2 separate regions of the Homo sapiens genome follow, and region 2 is linked to region 1. Evidence: promoter capture Hi-C in human tissues and cell types (Jung and others, 2019). All regions are on one chromosome and are shown on one strand. Each heading gives the region's core, a stretch centred on a gene start or on the middle of the fragment in contact. The rest is flanking DNA. Distances are from core to core; before and after follow the strand shown.

The links. The method cuts DNA at HindIII sites, captures the fragments that hold promoters and counts their contacts. A contact is called where the count stands out against the background at its distance.
Region 2: a fragment that was not itself captured here is called in contact with the fragment with the promoter of GABRD in region 1 in 1 of the 25 tissues and cell types used here (dorsolateral prefrontal cortex).

The regions. Positions count from the first base shown.
Region 1 is chr1:2,017,611-2,021,505 of GRCh38, reverse strand. GABRD (gamma-aminobutyric acid type A receptor subunit delta) reads right to left here and starts at 2,161. Exons shown (of 9, transcript NM_000815.5): 1 at 2,015-2,161. The coding sequence starts at 2,082. LOC105378589 (a long non-coding RNA gene) reads left to right here and starts at 3,418. Exons shown (of 2, transcript XR_001737844.3): 1 at 3,418-3,895. RefSeq lists enhancers at 1,989-2,566, 2,567-3,145. The HindIII fragment of the contact is 31,331 bases long and covers 1-3,895 here.
Region 2 is chr1:2,078,066-2,081,960 of GRCh38, reverse strand. All of the region lies in intron 4 of PRKCZ (protein kinase C zeta), which reads right to left. Among named protein-coding and RNA genes, the nearest start is that of PRKCZ, 30 kb to the right of the region's middle. The HindIII fragment of the contact is 6,733 bases long and covers 1-3,895 here.

The sequences.
Region 1 (3,895 bases), core at 912-3,411:
CCAGAATGGGTCCCACTGACGTCCAATACAGCTCCAGGACAAGGACCCCGAGACTGAGGGAAGGGAGGGCGGCTGTCCTGGTTTCTGGAGTGTAGGGGCACAGATACAGAGAGGCCCTTCATGGACAGCACCCCGCTAAGTCTGAAGGTGGCCCCTAGGGCTGAGTTGGCAGGTGCTTCCACCCTGGGGAGACCCTCCAGGCCTGCCCCTAGACGCCAAGAGCAGGAGGTTGAGCCCAGCACATGTGTGTGGACAGGATGACCTCAAAGGAGAGGCTGCAGCATGCAGCCAGGTGGTAACTGTTTTTAACTAGAGAGCGAAAGGGGAGCTGAGCAAAGCAGTGCACCTCTCACCAGGCAAGGTGTCCTCCCCAACGGCACCCCTCTTCCAGGGATGGGAGTGACTGCAGGCCCAGAGGCCCCCCACTCCTGGCTGGGCCGTGGCCTTCCAGCTTTCCTGCCCAAGGAAACAGGCACAGAATCCCTTCCCCGTCAGCCCAGGAGCCAGATGCAGGCCAGGATTAAGGATCTTCAGATTTTAGAGCAGGGAAATGGTGGACACAGAGGCTGTGGCTGGGGGCGGCCTGAAGAATTTCCCAGCAGGAAGTGTATATAAATAATCCCAGAAGTAGGATTAATAAAGATGAGAAGAGTCTCACGTCCATGCGGGACGGGACTTGCTGCCAACTGAATTCTGGTGTCGAACTTGGGCTAAAACTTTGGGGTTTCAGAGCCGTCTGGATTTCAGCCTCTTGGCTAAGTGGCCGTGGGCCTGGGCTGGCAGCTGTCCCCATGGCTCCAGCACAGCATCCACAACTGTGCCCCGAGCTTCGTCCTTCCTCTCACCTTGAAGGAGGGGAAGGACAAAGGGAGAAAGGCCCACTGGGATTGATGGAAGAACAAAGCTCTTCCCAGGACACGGGCTGCTTAGAGCCAGGGGCAGTGCCGACCCCGCGGTCTCCTGATGGGCACACGGCTGCAGCTGGACCCAGGCCTTCTGGGCTCTGTCCCCCGCACCTCCAATGGGAAAACTCTGACACACCGCCCCGTGTTGGGTGCTGCCATCTCTACTACGGTCAGCCACCTCTATATCTACATCTTCACGGTCTCTGAGATCCTGAATGCTGGGGGATGGCTCTTTGCTGTTTCTTCTGCAGTCTTTGCACTGAGGTGATTTTCAAAGACGCCCCTAAATGTCCTCTCGTGACTCCTAGGGAAGGCGGCCAGCCAGGCCCCGTGGTGGGGCCAAGTTGCCTGGGTGGCTGAGGAGCCCATTTCAGATCCCCAGAGAGGAGATGGGGGGGCACTGTAGGCCAGAGGGGGCTCCAGCCCCGGGGGGCCTCCTTCTCAGCCTCTTCCTTCTCTGGGGAGTCCCTCCCAAAATAGTTAAGAAATCCACCATCTCTTTTCTGTGGCCAGGGGCACCTGGCCGCCGTCCACCTGCACACACTCAGGAGTTCTGCCCACGCCATTTGAAACGGACTCTGAAAGGAGACCCCGGAGGCCGGGCCCACCCTCCACAGCGAGACAGCCTCCTCCGTCCGTCCCAGACCCTCCGGCTGGGGAAGCTCACTGGGGGAACGGGGAACGGCTCCCCCGCAAAGGGAGCAGCCTCCCCGCACCGAGTTCTCAGGTCTTTCCTCTCCTCAAGGCACCCGCCGGGCAGGGACCCGCGAGTGCCGCGGACCCGGGGACCCTCCACGCGCGCCGCGGAGCAGGGGAACCGGGAGGCTCCGACGCCCTCGCCCAGCCCAGGTTCAGCACCAGGACGGCGGACAGCACCGGGCGGGGGCGGCCAGCGCGGGGGTCGCCGCGTCCCGAGCCCAAGGGCAGCGTCCGGGCGAGTCCAACGAGGGGCCCGCGGGGCAAGACCCCGGGGAGGGAGGACGCGGGGCTCTCAGACTTGGGGTCCGGGGCCCGGGGCTCGCGCCGGCCGCTCTCCCAGCCGCTATCTCGGGCCGACGCGGGCCCCCCACCGCCCCCGACCCCGCGCCGCGCGGACCCCGCCCGCTCACCTGGTGCCGCGGAGCTGCTGCGCGCAGAGGAGCAGGAGCGGGGCCAGCAGCCGGGCGGGCGCGTCCATGGCCGCGGCGGGCTCGGGACGGGGTCCGCGCAAACTTGGCTCCCGGCGGCCGCACAGGCGGCACAGGCGGGCGGGAGCTGAGCGAGCGCGGCGCGGGCGCGAGGGGGCGGACGGAGCGCGGAGCCCGCCCCGAGCCCGCCCCAGCCCGCCGCTCCCTGCAGCCCGGCCCCGCCCGCCGCTCCCCTCTCCTCCCCCCGCCCCCCGCCCCATCCCGCCCCCCTCCGCCAGCCGCGCCCCCTCCCTCGCGGGCAGCTCTCCCTGGCCGGGGTCTGGCTCTCCGGGACCGCTGCCCTCACGCGCCGCAGACGGGACCCTCCGGGTGTCTTCATGGGAGGCGACACCGGCACAAGCCCCGCGTGGACACTGTGGCCCACGGGCGCGGCAGAACCTCGTCCCGAGGCGGTTTGTGGGGGGTCGCACGTCTGCGTGGCTGCTTCTGGCTGCGCCGGCGGTGGGTGGGGAGGGGGCCAGTCCCTGCAGCTGTCAGGAGAGAGACCCCCACCAGCGGCTGCTTCCAAAACCCTCCTGCCTTCGCGGGAGCTGGGGCCAGGCGACTTTGGGAGCAAGTCCTGATCCCTGGGGACCCTCGACGGGGGCGGGGAGAGGAAAAGCAGGTGGGGGCTGCGCCGCAGGCCGCAGTTCTGACTCTCCACACCTCTCATGGCCCCAGGCCCGCCCTCCACACCCCTAGGATCTGGGAAAGGGAAGGCCTCACACTCTCCTGCCTTGGATCTTTTGAACATAAAGTTGCGCTGCCATTTCCTGAAGCTGCTCACAAACTTTAATCATTGTTGTGTCAGTTATTCACTTCTGGGCTCGCGATGTCGCTGACAGCACAGTGTCAACCCCTCGTGAAAACACTTAAAAATGGCGAAGCTGTCCCCGAGGCTGCGTGCTTCTGGATGAAGGGCCCTGGCCGCACAGGGGCAGGTGGAGGAAAGTGCAGAGAGGGATTTGCTTCGGAATTTCCAGCCCAATCCCTACTGTGGGAAGTGGAAGAATGAGGCTGGTTCCAGTTTGCTTGCTTTATTTATGTTATGTTATGTTATGTTATGTTATGTTATGTTATGTTATGTTATGTTATGTTATTTTTCGAGATGGAATCTGGCTCTGTTACCCAGGCTGGAGCACAATCTCGGCTCACTGCAACTTCTGCCTCCCAGGTTCAAGCAAGTCTCCTGCCACAGCTTCCCGAGTAGGTGGGATTACAGGCACCTGCCACCACGCTCGGTTATTTTTTTGTATCTTTAGTACAGACGGAATTTCACCATGTTGGCCAGGCTGGTCTCGAACTCCTGACCCCGTGATCCGCCCGCCTCGGCCTCCCAAAGTGCTGGGATTACAGGCGTGAGCCACTGCACCCAGCCCTAGCCTGCTTTCTTAAATCAAGGAACGGGGCTCTAACAAGCCCAACAGGTCTCAACTCCAAGGCCCCCTTCCCGGCTGCTCACTGGCCCCTGCCGAGAGGGGTCCTTTGGGTACAGAAGCACTGACCTCCCTGTGTTCCCGGGGTTCCTGTCCGAGCCTGTGCTCTGCACACGTGCCCCTTCCCACGTGTCCCTTCCATGGATTAATTTAGGAGTTAATTCATGAAGAGGTGCCCAGAGCTTGGCCCGGCCCCCGGTGAGAGGCATTATTTTTATTCTTCCCCCTCCAGAACAGGGGTCTTGTCCGTCTTCTCCTTGGTGGTGTATTGGATGAAGTAGGTGCTCAGCAAATGTAGGAGGAGGTGCAGACTCCACATCTGCAAAGTCCATGCACCCACTGCGGCCAGCACGCCATCACTGCCTCCGGACAGTGCCCCGCCCTCCCT
Region 2 (3,895 bases), core at 738-3,237, 61 kb before region 1:
AGCAGGGGACAAATGGGCAAGAGGGGCCAGCGATGGTGCCGCTCTCTGCCCATTTCTGCCTTTGTCACCTCTCATCAAACCAACTGAGGAAGTCAGTGCAGCACAGAGGGCAGCAGGAAGGGGATGCTGGGGGGCGGGGCGGCAGTGGTGGGGTGTGGGGGGCGTGCCTGAGCTTGGTGCCAGGTGATGCAGGGACCTGCCGAGTCCCACACGAGCCCCATGCAGAGCCTGGGCTGCTGACCCTACGGCACTGCCAACTCAGCTGGGAGAAGAGTATGCGGGGTCAGTCCCCCAACCGCAGCCCCGACATCACCACGCCACCAAGTCCGGGCACAGTGTGGTGACTTCTCCCCTCCCCGCCTCGACCCAGCACCACCTTGGCATGATGCTGGAGCTCCGGCTGCAGTACCAATCACCTCCCAGGGCCCACACCCCACACCGGGGTCTGCAGCCATGGGACGTCCTGGCCACACAGGCCCCTTCTGGGGGTCCATGCCCACAGCCCAGACTCGCCCGAGACCCACCTCTGGGCCTGGGACCTGCTTCCCCCTGCTCCCTGCAGCCTGCCCCCTCCTGCCAGAGACCCGTCAGCACCCACCCCCAACCCACCCAGTGTCTGGCCTCATCGCTGCCCCAACAGCCAGCCTGCAGGGGCCCCAGTGCCCAAAGCTGGAACAATCTGAGCAATAAGTAAGCGACACGGTATCCGATTCTAACCCAAGTATGAAATTGACACCTGCGAGTCCACATGAACAGAAAGGAATAATTAAATAACCAATGGGAGAACAGACGTACAAGTCCCGTGCAAAACTTGACATCACGTATGTAGCTCCTCACCTCTTAGGTGTGGGCCACGCACGCCTCACTCCGCAGACAGGACAGCACGGGGGAAGAGGCACGGGCAGGTGTGAGCCGACAAACACACCGCGGCCAGGTGACACGCAAGGCCAGCACGGACAGGCTGCGTGGAGGGTGTGGACCTGGACCCAGCGATATAAGGAGGCTTCACCTCCTCCCAAAACACAAGGCCCCAGTCCTTATGAGAAAAACATGAGGCAAACCCCAGCGAAGGGCTGTCCCACAAAACACCTGACCAGCCCTCCTTAAAACTACGAAGGTCGTTGAAAATGAGGCAAGTCTGAGAGACCTGCCACAGTGAGAGGGACCTAAGGAGACGTGACGGCCAAGTGCCACGTGGGGCCCTGGACGGGATCCTGGGACAGAAAGGGGGCAGGAGGGGAGACTGAGGCAAGCGGAATAAAGCCTTAGCTGGAAAGGTGCCGAGACTGGCTGGTGAAGTGTAACTCACGCATTACGCTGACCAGGAGGGAGCAGGGAGGGAATGCTTGTGCTCTACTCCTGTCCTGATTTTTCTGTAAATCCAAAACTGTTCCAAAAACTGGTCTTCCCACCACCCCACTGAACGAGGGGGTGACAGAACTAAACTACCTGGGTCAAGCATTTGAAAACTGCCCCCAGGTCGCACGGGGGGCAGCATCAAGGAAAAACAAACAGAGGGGCCTTTGCCCTCCTTAAAACCCTGCACCACACCCTCCGGCCCCTCAGGATGCAGAGCAGTGGGACGTGCTGGTCCACACCTGCCACGTCCACGCGCACCGCCACGTCCACGCGCACTGCCCCTACCTAAAGACCTTCTCCAACTCTGGTTTTCCTGCATACTTTAGCCTTCAGAAAGCGTCATCACGATGGTTTCCAGGTGGACACAGCAGCTCAAACACATCACTGACTGACTCTCCCTCCCAAGACCAAAGGAAGAAAAACTCCAAAAAACCCGTAACAGCAAAGAGGAGGACAGGCCGGGTAGTGGATGCCCTGGGACCTGGAAGGCAGAGGGCCCCGTGGCCACCAGGAGACTGTACTGGGCCGAACCCCAAAGAAGGGCCCCAAGTCAGAGGCTCCAGGTAGCAGGAAAGTGGGGCACCTGCTGTGCAGGGTCCCAGTCAGTGAGGAGTCGACCCCCAGACCCCCTTCCTCACCCAAAGCAGCCAGGGAACGAGAGGGCTTGCGGGGGCAGCAGACTCCTTACTAGGGGTGAGATGCCCGGCCCTCCCAGGCAGGACACTCCCCTGGGGACTTCCGCCACCACCAGCTCTGTGGTGCCCCACGAGTCAATGTGGGCAGACAAATGCGGGTCACCAGGGGCCCAGGAAGCCGCAAAGGCCAGGACAAACACAAAAAGGGACTCTCGGTGAAAACAGCTGAGTACGAGGCCAAAGAAAACACCAAAAGGAGACGTTATCACCAACCGCTGCCAGCACACATGCTCCCACCATGTGCCGCCATCAGCAGCAGCCGCGGGGCCAGCGTTGTGGCTTAGTTACTGGCTAATCCCATGATAGCCTTGGGAGCCAAGCCTTTTACCATCACGCTCACTTATGAGGGTCCGGGACACGGTGGACAGCGTTGTGGCCGAGGTCACGTGGCTGGTGGGCAGCAGAGCTGGGGCCTGACCACGCAGCTTCAGGCCCTGGGGCACGCGGCAAATAGCGTGGGCTTAAGCCCAGCCCTTGGGGTTTGAGTCCCAGCTCAAACTGTGCGATTCTGGGAAATTTCTTGACCTGTCTGTGCCTCAGTGCTAATCTTTACCCAGAACAAAGAAAACAATGGTGCCCACAAGGAACTGAGAAGATTAAATGAGTTCACACGCGGGAAGCCTCGCAGCCATGAATGTGCTGGGTGCTGCTCAATCACCACATGATACCGCGGTGCTTCTCAGCCGGGACGAATAACCCCAGAGAAAAAGTGCGATATGCCTTTGACACAAGGGCAGGGCACTCTGCCTTAAAAAGGCACCTTCAGGCCGGGCGCAGTGGCTCACGCCTGTAATCCCGGCACTTTGGGAGGCCGAGGCGGGCGGATCACAAGGTCAGAAGATCGAGACCATCCTGGCTAACACGGTGAAACCCCGTCTCTACTAAAACTACAAAAAATTAGCTGGGCGTGGTGGCGGGCGCCTGTAGTCCCAGCTACTCAGGAGGCTGAGGCAGGAGAATGGCCTGAACCCAGGAGGTGGAGGTTGCAGTGAGCCGAAATCACGCCACTGCACTCCAGCCTGGGCGACAGAGCAAGACTCCATCTCAAAAAAAAAAAAAAAAGCCACCTTCAGAGAAAAAAGATCGAAAGACAAGAACGGGAACAAGGCAACAAACTAACAAACTTAACAGATGGTTTGGACAGAGAAACCTGAAGATGTCTCCTAGCATATAACATAAACAAAGAAATGGAAAATAGAGAAGAAAATTAAAGGACCAGCCTGGGAGGGCCAACAAATAATCAGCGTTAACTCTAAAAGAGAGTCAGAGACGGGGAGTCGGCCATGTGATAAATAACTGGGTGTAAAGCTCCTCACATCCAAATGTCGCAAGGTTCCACAGCACGAGTTCCCAGCACAAGAGACAAAGAAGTTTCCACGACAAGGAACATTATCATGAAACTTGAGAACCCTGAAGACAAAAGATTCTACAAGACTTTCAGGAGAAAAACACACAAAATCAAAATGGCACCTGACTTCTCGGTCACACAAGAAGCCAGAAGACAGTAGAGCGATCCCTTCGAAATGCAGAGGGAAAATTCTTTCCAATACAGAATTTCATACCTAGCTAAACTATCCTTAAGTGTGTGGCTGGAGGAAAAGCATTTTCCAACTAGATCCCCCAAACTGGCCTCCCACGCCATCTTTCTCAGACAGCTGCTGGAGGGTCTTAACCGGACATTAAGCCAAGAAAGAGGAAGAGAGGGAGCCAGAGATCAAGACTGTAGGCAGAGGAGAGAGGAGGGGACTGTTCCCAGCTCGGGGCACAGGGAAGCCCCACGGCATGTTGTGTGGGGGGCCAGGTGCACCAGGAGGGAGGTGAGGCAGGCATCGGTGGGAGCT